2 separate regions of the Homo sapiens genome follow, and region 1 is linked to region 2. The links are contacts of gene promoters, found by promoter capture Hi-C in human tissues and cell types (Jung and others, 2019). All regions are on one chromosome and are shown on one strand. The core of a region is centred on a gene start or on the middle of the fragment in contact, and the rest is flanking DNA. Distances in the headings are between cores, read along the strand shown.

What was found. Contacts are between HindIII fragments. The study calls those that stand out against the background at their distance.
Region 1: a fragment that was not itself captured here is called in contact with the fragment with the promoter of IL22RA2 in region 2 in 2 of the 25 tissues and cell types used here (H1 embryonic stem cells and neural progenitor cells).

The regions. Positions count from the first base shown.
Region 1 is chr6:137,483,813-137,488,215 of GRCh38, forward strand. No RefSeq gene overlaps it. Among named protein-coding and RNA genes, the nearest start is that of OLIG3, 8.4 kb to the right of the region's middle. RefSeq lists an enhancer at 3,574-4,249. The HindIII fragment of the contact is 6,598 bases long and covers 1-4,403 here.
Region 2 is chr6:137,170,906-137,175,116 of GRCh38, forward strand. IL22RA2 (interleukin 22 receptor subunit alpha 2) reads right to left here and starts at 2,739. Exons shown (of 7, transcript NM_052962.3): 1 at 2,508-2,739. RefSeq lists enhancers at 839-1,597, 1,494-1,713. The HindIII fragment of the contact is 17,145 bases long and covers 1-4,211 here.

The DNA of each region.
Region 1 (4,403 bases), core at 245-2,744, 310 kb after region 2:
AAGGCTGGAAGCAGAGAGGTAGAGAAGATAGCAAAAAGATGACTAGATAATTGAGAAGCAAGATAGAGGAATAGAGGAAGAAAGGAAAACTGAGGAGGAAGAACAAGGAGAAAAAGGGAATCTCCCATAAATCTTTTATCTCTTGGAAGTACGTAGGCATGGTCCTTTTTCTAAGTACTATTGTAATGACCTAAAGCCTATATAAGTGAAGAATAAACCAATAAGAGTAATTCTTGATGCCAAGTTACCACCAGAAATGTTTTCCATTTTTAAAAAGTGGCCACCACGTTCCTTGCCTTACCTGCCCCACTTAATCCTTTTCATCCCTGCCCTGCAGATTCTGCCTTGCCATTGCTTACTTCTGACCTCTTTCTTTCAAGCCTAAAGTATAGGGAAACATGGAATGTTTCATTGAATATTCTAGAGTCAACAAAGTAGAACATCCTTGCATACCATAATGGTATGTATTTTAGATGAGCAACCTTTATATAAAATTTCAAAGGAAGTTAATTCTAGAAAAAGAAAAGAATCTATAATGGTCAAGTAAATAATTATAAGAAAAACATCTCACCTCTCAATGTTCCCTCAGATGAAGTCTAGGTTCTCTGCAGTGAGAGTTCATAGGAACCAAAATTTAGAAAATTTAGCACTGTCCTGCTGATCTCTTCTACCCCTTCCTCCAGGTATTCCAGCACTGTCAGCATCAGCCACTTCAGGGCCAAATTAGTATGAAACCTGGCTGAGGTTTAAATAAAATTATTTCTAAAAAATATTAGGTCTCTCCATTTTTAATGTAATTTCTTGTGTTGAGATCTAGTATTTACTGTGAAAAATACACTAAATGTTTCTTAGTATTTTCTACTTAAAAACCTGCTGATAGCAATAATGATGAAAAGTTACTAGTCAAATAAAGATGGGAACATCAAACACTGGGGACTACCAGTGAGGGGAGGGTGGGAGTGGGGCGAGGGCTGAAAAGCTACCTTTTGAGTACTATGCTCGCTACCTGGGTGACAAGATCATTCGTACACCAAACCTCAGCAACACGCAATTCACCCATGCGACAAAGGTGCACACGTACCACCCGAAACTAAAATAAAAATTGAAAAAAAAAAAAAAAGAAAAGTTACTAGTCAAGTTAATATACTCTCTGGCCCTGAAGAGATCACATGTTTCAATTAAGAGCCTGGCAAACACTCCACAGGATGAAGAAAATGCTGGAGAACCAAGTACCTAAGGGTAAAAAATGAAAAAAAAAAATGTCTATATCAAAATGCTCTTTGGGAAGAGACGTTGCACATTAGTCTCTGCAAAGGAGAGAGGAAGAAACTAACCCACCTCTACCTGGTCAGACAGTAGAATTTCTAAAACTGTACTTAATTCACTCTGACTTATTAATAATATAATTTAGTAAAAATGGGAAACAAATTGCTTCCCTTTCTTCTATTTCCCCATGGACTATTTAGCAAGAGGGAATGGCTTCTAATTTTTCATGTTTGTGTCTCTACAGCACTGTAGGGAAGTCAGATTTTGAGAACATCATTGCATAGATTTGCCTTTAGTATCAAAAGGGGCAACTCTTTGCGTTACACAGGTCACAATGTCTGTCCATCTGTCTGGATCCCATTTTTCGCATGACTGGAATGAACAGTTAGCTATACAGAAAACCAGAACAAGAGTCCAGCATTGACTATGGTCAAACTTAGTTTAAATGGTGAGTCCCTTTTGATTCACTAGATTTTTATATTTTCCCAGTGAGAAAAGTGCCACCGTTCTACATGAAGCACCATTTAATGCCAATTGCCTATGAGCCGGCCTCCCTCATGTGTTTACCTTATATTGACTAGCTCGTATACCACTATCTGGTCCAGTCAACTGTGGCACGAAAGGCAAAGGATGGCTTTAACCAGTGCCTGACCCTTCAGCATCACTTCCTTAAGAAGTAATAGTGGACTTGGCAAACTGTGTGGCTCCATAGACTCTTCCTGCCATTGCCTAGTTCAAGCAAACAACTAATTTCTAAAACAGTTAATATCCACATCTTGATCACCTTCATAATACTCATCTCTATAGATGCTAGATTTCACCTTTCTGCAATGTTTTATTTAAATGGACCCACAATGACCAAACTGATACCAAATTGAAACTATTATCTTTTTAATTAGTGTAGGACATGTTTATATTTTTTTCTTAAAGAGATGCTTTGAAAATTCAATTTTTCCAATTAACCATCTCTGATGCAAAGTTAACTGAATGACTGCTAGTTTGCTTGGGCTCCAGTATATCTGATTAACTGTTCTATTTTAGAAATATATTTAATTACATCATGCAGTTTTCACCTTACAGGTGTGAAAAGACACAGAGACTAACAACCCAAACCTGCCTCCTATATTTTTATTCTCTTCTTTGTCTTTCTTATGACACTCAAATCCTGTCTTCTTAGATTTAAATTATTAATAGAGAAACAACTGGAGAAATAACCAAACCAAAAATTTATTACGTGATGGAACAAACTAATTAATACAAAAGAAGATTGGATAAATAAAATATAGTCAAAGCCCCAAATTAAAGAGAAAGAAATTCAACACAGAAGGATAAGGGGACAGAGAAGTCAAACAAGCTCTTTTTTTAACTTTTGTCCAAGAACCCCTGGCCTCAAGCTTTAAAGATTACCGGAAGCCCCAAAGGAGCTCCCTCCGGTCTTCTCTGAGGATCCAGCGCAGATCCAACAATTGAGTGCTGAATCTTTGTGTTCTAGGTGGGATTATTTATCAGGGATTTTGTTTTGTCTGGGTTTTCAATGGCCCGGCCCCAGCTGTACATTTGGGGACAGACCACAGCTTCAGTCAACAGAGGGTTTGTAGCGATCCATTCGGAAGCTTCCCTCCCCCTGCAGGGATGGAGTAATTAACAGACCATTAAGTCACTTCTGCTTTATTGAAGGGGATACTGTGCAGGTCATTTCTTTGAAAACTTTTGTTCTTGAAGGAAATTACAGGATTGTTTTATGTTCAGAACCACAGCCTGGTGTACTCTGGAGTCCAGAGGCAAATTTCTGTAGCTGGGGGAACTACAGAGACAAGGAGGATAATGACAGTAATCCCATTAAAAAAATATCTCCCCCAACTCCTCTTCTTTTATTTTTTTTCTTTAAAAAAACAGTTAAAAGAAAAACGATTTGCTCATTTGCTAATAACTAATAGGGACATGAAATACAGAGATGCCCCAGACTGAAATTTATCTCTGTGTCAATAAATCTCTAAACAACTGCCACGAAACCAAGTACTGCCACCATTGCTTCTTTTTATTTCCATATTAATCAAAAGCATCTGCTCCTGTCCTTTCCAGTAGAGGGAATGGGCAGTGAGTTTTCTAGCATCTGAAAAAGCGCCTGGAAGGACGTGTTTACAGCACTTGTGTTTTGTGCGGCCAGTAGAATTTTTACCCTAGGACTTAGGTGACTTAGGTAACCGATGTTTTCCCTCTAGGCTCTGAGGGCACAGAGGACAGGAGCTATTTCTTATGCATGTGAATGCCTTATTTCTCTTACTGTTTTACTTTTTTTTTTCCCCTCTGTTGTCGCTCCTAGCACCTGGCACATCGGAAGCATTCAGAAAATGTTCGTTGCTGAATTGGGGGAAGATTGAGAGAAACTCCAAAAGAAGTAATGCCAAGGCTTGTGTTGCTAGGAGTCCACTAGAACGCTATATGTTTACATTTGGTTTCAAATGATGGTGTGGATTTCCTTGTCCTTTCCCGGAGTAGACGGAAGGGAGGCGAGATGGTGGGAGGCTGAATAACCAGGAGGAGAAAGGAGTCGCCATAAAATGCACCCGCGCCACCCTCCATGTCCCCCAGTGGAATTGAGGATCTTGCTTGTGGCAAAAGTGCGTTCTTGGCACCACAGCCCCGCAGCTGGGGAGGGGGGCCTCAGTACCCGGCTTCCGCAATTTTCCAGGCGTGGAGGTGAGGGGTGCTTGCGTGTAAACTGTGGCAACCCCCAGAATCAGGCCCTGGCTCCTGCACTTTCGGAGGTGTCTGTTGCAGACCACGAGGAAAAGAGGGGTCTTACTCAAGTCAGGGCCGGACAGAACTCCAAAACTTACGAGGACAGCTATCCAACACTGCCTCACAGACCCTTAGGCGCTGCCCCCTCTTTGCCCCTGTCCTCCTGCGGTGCGAGAAACCCGACCACTCTGCTTCTACCCGAACCCCAGGACGCAACAGTAAAATCAAGGCCCGTCGTTGAACTCCCAGGTCTGCGCATCCCTCCCTCCTGGCTCCCTGGGGTCTTGGCCCCAGCAGGTCCAGTACCCATCCCCAGAGGGACCCACTACCCTGGGCGTCCCAGGGTGCCAGGCACGATGGCCTGCAATGGGGGCTGCAATTTAACCGAGGCGAGT
Region 2 (4,211 bases), core at 1,489-3,988:
GATTAATCAGAAGTCAACATGGCAGATTAGCATCTAAAAATGAAGTTGCTTCAGCCTCCGCAAGTCATAAAGGTTTTTTTGTTGTTGTTAAAAAGAGAGGCTCTTTAGATCAAAAGGGGAAATGTATACTGGTTTCTATTTTCTCTTGTATAGTCTCTTTCAAGTTCTTGGTAGAATAGCTCCTTTAGTAAGGAATAATGATGGCTGCTAAGCAGTATCCATCCATGCAGCTATCCAATAACATTTCACAAATATTTGCTGTCCTACCATAAACTAGGAATTAGTCTCAGCAGCAAGGATGCAGCAGCAGATAAGAGAGACATTGCCCCTGCCTTCCTTAAGCTTGCTTCTCAAGGGAAAAGTAGAGAATAAGGAGCTACAGCAGGGTTACAACTTCTATTCATCTAACCTTCTCTGTCTTTTTCTTCTCCTTCTTAAATGGGAGATGAAAAGTTTCAGAAGCCGGCTTGCAAAGCCACTTTGCCTCCCACCCTCCATCACAACCATTAACCAAGACTAGAATGTAGGAGGGGAAGCAGGTAAAATGAAAGTGCTAAAAGGAGAGGGTTGGGTGCTGCTGATGTGGAGGAGGCAGAGTCTTCAAAGAGAAAGGGAAGAATGGCCTTCTGCATACAGACAGGAGCAGAGGAGTTGTTCTCAAGTGTAGACCCTCCATCCCAACCCCATGACCCAGCACCTGTGAACATTTCTAGACACTCGGGTGCCTGAGACTGTGAGGCCTTGGGTGGAGCTGGGGCCACGCAGGGAAAACCTTATTCCTGAGCAAAGGGTCTTAGAAGAGAGCTTATCAGAAATTTCCTCAGAAACCAGATCCCAGTGGACCAGGCCACTATCAATTTTCATTTAACAAATTTCAGTTATTGGAGGGCAGTTGCGCTGCATGCTTTCTGAGGCCAGCCCTATGTGGAAAGGTTTGTGTGGATAACATCAGGTTTCCCAGTGCCTCTGTTCTACGGCAGTCTTCTGAATCCAGGCTTGTATCTCCTCCAGCTGAAGTTTTTGGTGCTTATAAGGTAGCTTCTGCTTTGAAAGAAGAAACATGCAGCACGTTTTATGTTCCCTTTTCACCTCTTCATGCTCCTTAGCTTGCAACCTTCTCAGCATTGTTATTCACTTCCCTGCTAATGTTTACCACTTCACATTTACTTTGGTATTTAAATGGGGGATGATAATGTGGGTTTGCACTATTGATGTTCAATGGCTTCAATACCAATAGATCTCATTTTGAAGCCACCAAATTGCTCCAAGTTCCAGCTAAGAATAAAAGGAAAATATTTAAATTCGAGGTTTTATGATGAGAGCAGCAGAGAACGAAATTGAGGTTTCCACTGGGTTGCTGACTTTGTCAAACAAATGAGGGGAAATTAGGCGGAGTGGGATAAGCAAAACATATTTAAGAACTGAATTCTCCCCAAAACGTGAGCTTTGGTGCTCTATTAAATTTCACAAACCAGACCAGTTCTGTCACTGTTCAATTAGCTCTAGTTGTGTAATAGAACCTGCATAAAAGCCAACACTGTCAACAAGGCCTCAAGGTAGATGAAAAGATAAAATTAAATTCTAATTTCCCATCAATCTGGAAGCAGAAGAATTTGTACAGAATTGTTTCAAATGAAATGCTGTTTTGTTTGGGAAGTAAGAAAGTTTTAGTCACTAGGGGATCTCCGCTCTGCCTCCTTTCAGGCATGAAATGCTGGCTTCATTCCCTGCCCTCCCCCGACCTCGGCCCCACTCCGCAGCAGGGAGAGTCCACCTTGACGGTGACAACGGGTATTTCCATCATCGTGTTGACTCTGGAGAGAACTTGCTTAAGCCCCTGTCTTGAACAGATTTGATTCTCTTCTTCCTTTCTTCTTGTGGCTTCCAGCAGACCAACCATTTATCTAATTAAGGAATCATTTTTCATTGTTTTTAGGTGTGATGTGGAATTTTGGTTATTATTTTTATTTTTTTTTAGAGCTACCTATTATAGTACTACAGATGAAATGGTGTCATGTCTGGGATTTGCTTCAAAATAATACAAAGGCCTGGGAAAGGGGGTTACCATCCATGAGCTGATAACTGTTGAAATTGGGTGTCAGGTTTATTATACTCTACTTTTGTATGTACTTAAAATTGTTCATAACAAAGAAAAAAGATTTTTAAAGTTTATCTACAAGATGTGGCCAGACACGGTGGCTCACACCTGTAATCTCAGCACTTTGGAAGGCGGAGGTGGGTGGATCATTTGAGGTGTGGAGTTCCAGACCAGCCTGGCCAACATGGTGCAACCCCGTCTGTACTAAAAATACAAAAATTAGCCAGGCGTGACGGTGTGTGCCTGTAATCCCAGCTACTCAGTGGGGCTGAGGCAGGAGAATTGCTTGAGTCAAGGAGGTGAGGTTTGCAGTGAGCCGAGATCGCGCCACTGCGCTCCAGTCTGGGCAGCGATAAAGCGAGAGTCCATCTCAAAAAAATAAATAAATAAATAAATAAAGTTTACTTACCAGATGCTGTCTTCCTTTTGGTAATTTTAATGCCATTTTAGTGTCAATAATAAGATCTAATAATTATGGGACGCCATGTTATGTTTTTCCCATATTTTGTCTTTGTTAATCCTCTTATGAAGTCTAGGAGATTGGTATTATTATTCATTTGATGTTACAGATGAAGAAACTGAGACATAGATAGAGAGGTGGAGAGAACTTGACCAGGGCTCTATAGCGAGTAGTGGTAAAGTGAGGGCTGAAATCAGATCTGGTTAGCCTCAGGGCCTGAGGAGTATTATGAAACTCCTCTTGTGTTATTCTTTGCTTGTAATAGACATTCCATAAAGGGATAGAATGATGTCAAAGAACATTTGTCCATTGGCTTCTCGAATCGTTTATTCAGTCAAACAAATGTTTATTGAGCAACTGTTATATGCCAGGCACTGTGTTAGACATCGGGGATGCAGAAATGAACAAGACTACAGAGCCAGCCCTCAGGGAACCAACAGCATTTTCTTCAACCAGGTCTTGGTAGCAAAGGGCTAAGTGTTTCTTATTGTTTTTCAGAGAAGTGTTTAAAAACTGGTGTTCAGTATGACTTTGGTGCTGTCCATTGAAGGGAAGTCAGAGCAACTGTGTTTCTGCTAGGCCCTTTCCTTCATCCTATGATTTGGTGGGCAGCTGAGCATCTTTTAAAAGTTTCATCATGAATGATAATCTGAACACCACCCTTCTCCCTCTCTGGAAAACTATAGAGCTGTAGAGCCAACAACAGGGAAACAACTTGTTCTTTCTTATTTGCTGGGACATTAATAGCTCCACCGAGTAATATTCATGTCCTTTAAGCAGTTCGGCATTCTGGAAATAATTGGCATGCAAAAATTCAAAATGGTTTGTGAACTTGAATTCAGAAAAGAAAAAGAAACATTGTTATTCAAACACAGGTGATAAGCACAATGACTAATCTGAGTTTTTGGACTGTGATCACTAATATATTATTTAAAATCTCCACTCATAGGACATAGGGCTTAATGAGGTTAACCTTTCCTGCTCTTCACTCTTATTTTTCTGGATAAAAGATGCTATTGATTTTGCTTTGATTATTCTTTAAAAAATTTTTTAAAATTTATTTCTGAAAACCAAAACATAAAGGAGTGGTAACATTTAAAAAATATGTATTTTTTTTATTTCAGTAGCTGTGCAATAGTGCAAGTGGTTTTTGGTTACCTGGATGGATTGCACAGTGGTGAAGTCTGAGATATTATTGCATCTCTTACCCGAGTAATGTACATTGTACCCAATATGTAGCTTTGATTATTCTTCACCCAAGGTCACCTTGAAACCCCTACCAGATATCATCAATCATTATGCCCATGCACCAGTATGTTTGTATGTATTGTTTGATCCTGAAAATATCTTCATGGCATAACCAGAATCCAACTGGTTTTCACCTCCTCCACTGTACCCATTTGGTAACCTGCTATCATCATCTCTTGTGTGGACTGTGGCCACAGCCTCCTTACTGGTCTGCCTGCCTCTGTCACTGTTCTCTGCATCAGGTGGAGTGTTCCTATTAAATGTCAGAATAGAACATTTTATTCAGAACCCTGTGATGCCTTCCCATCTCACTCAGATTGAAAGTCAACATTTTTCCAGTCCCTTACTAAGCCCTATATAACCAGGTCCTGTTACCTCTAAATTTATTTCCTACTGCTCTCCTCC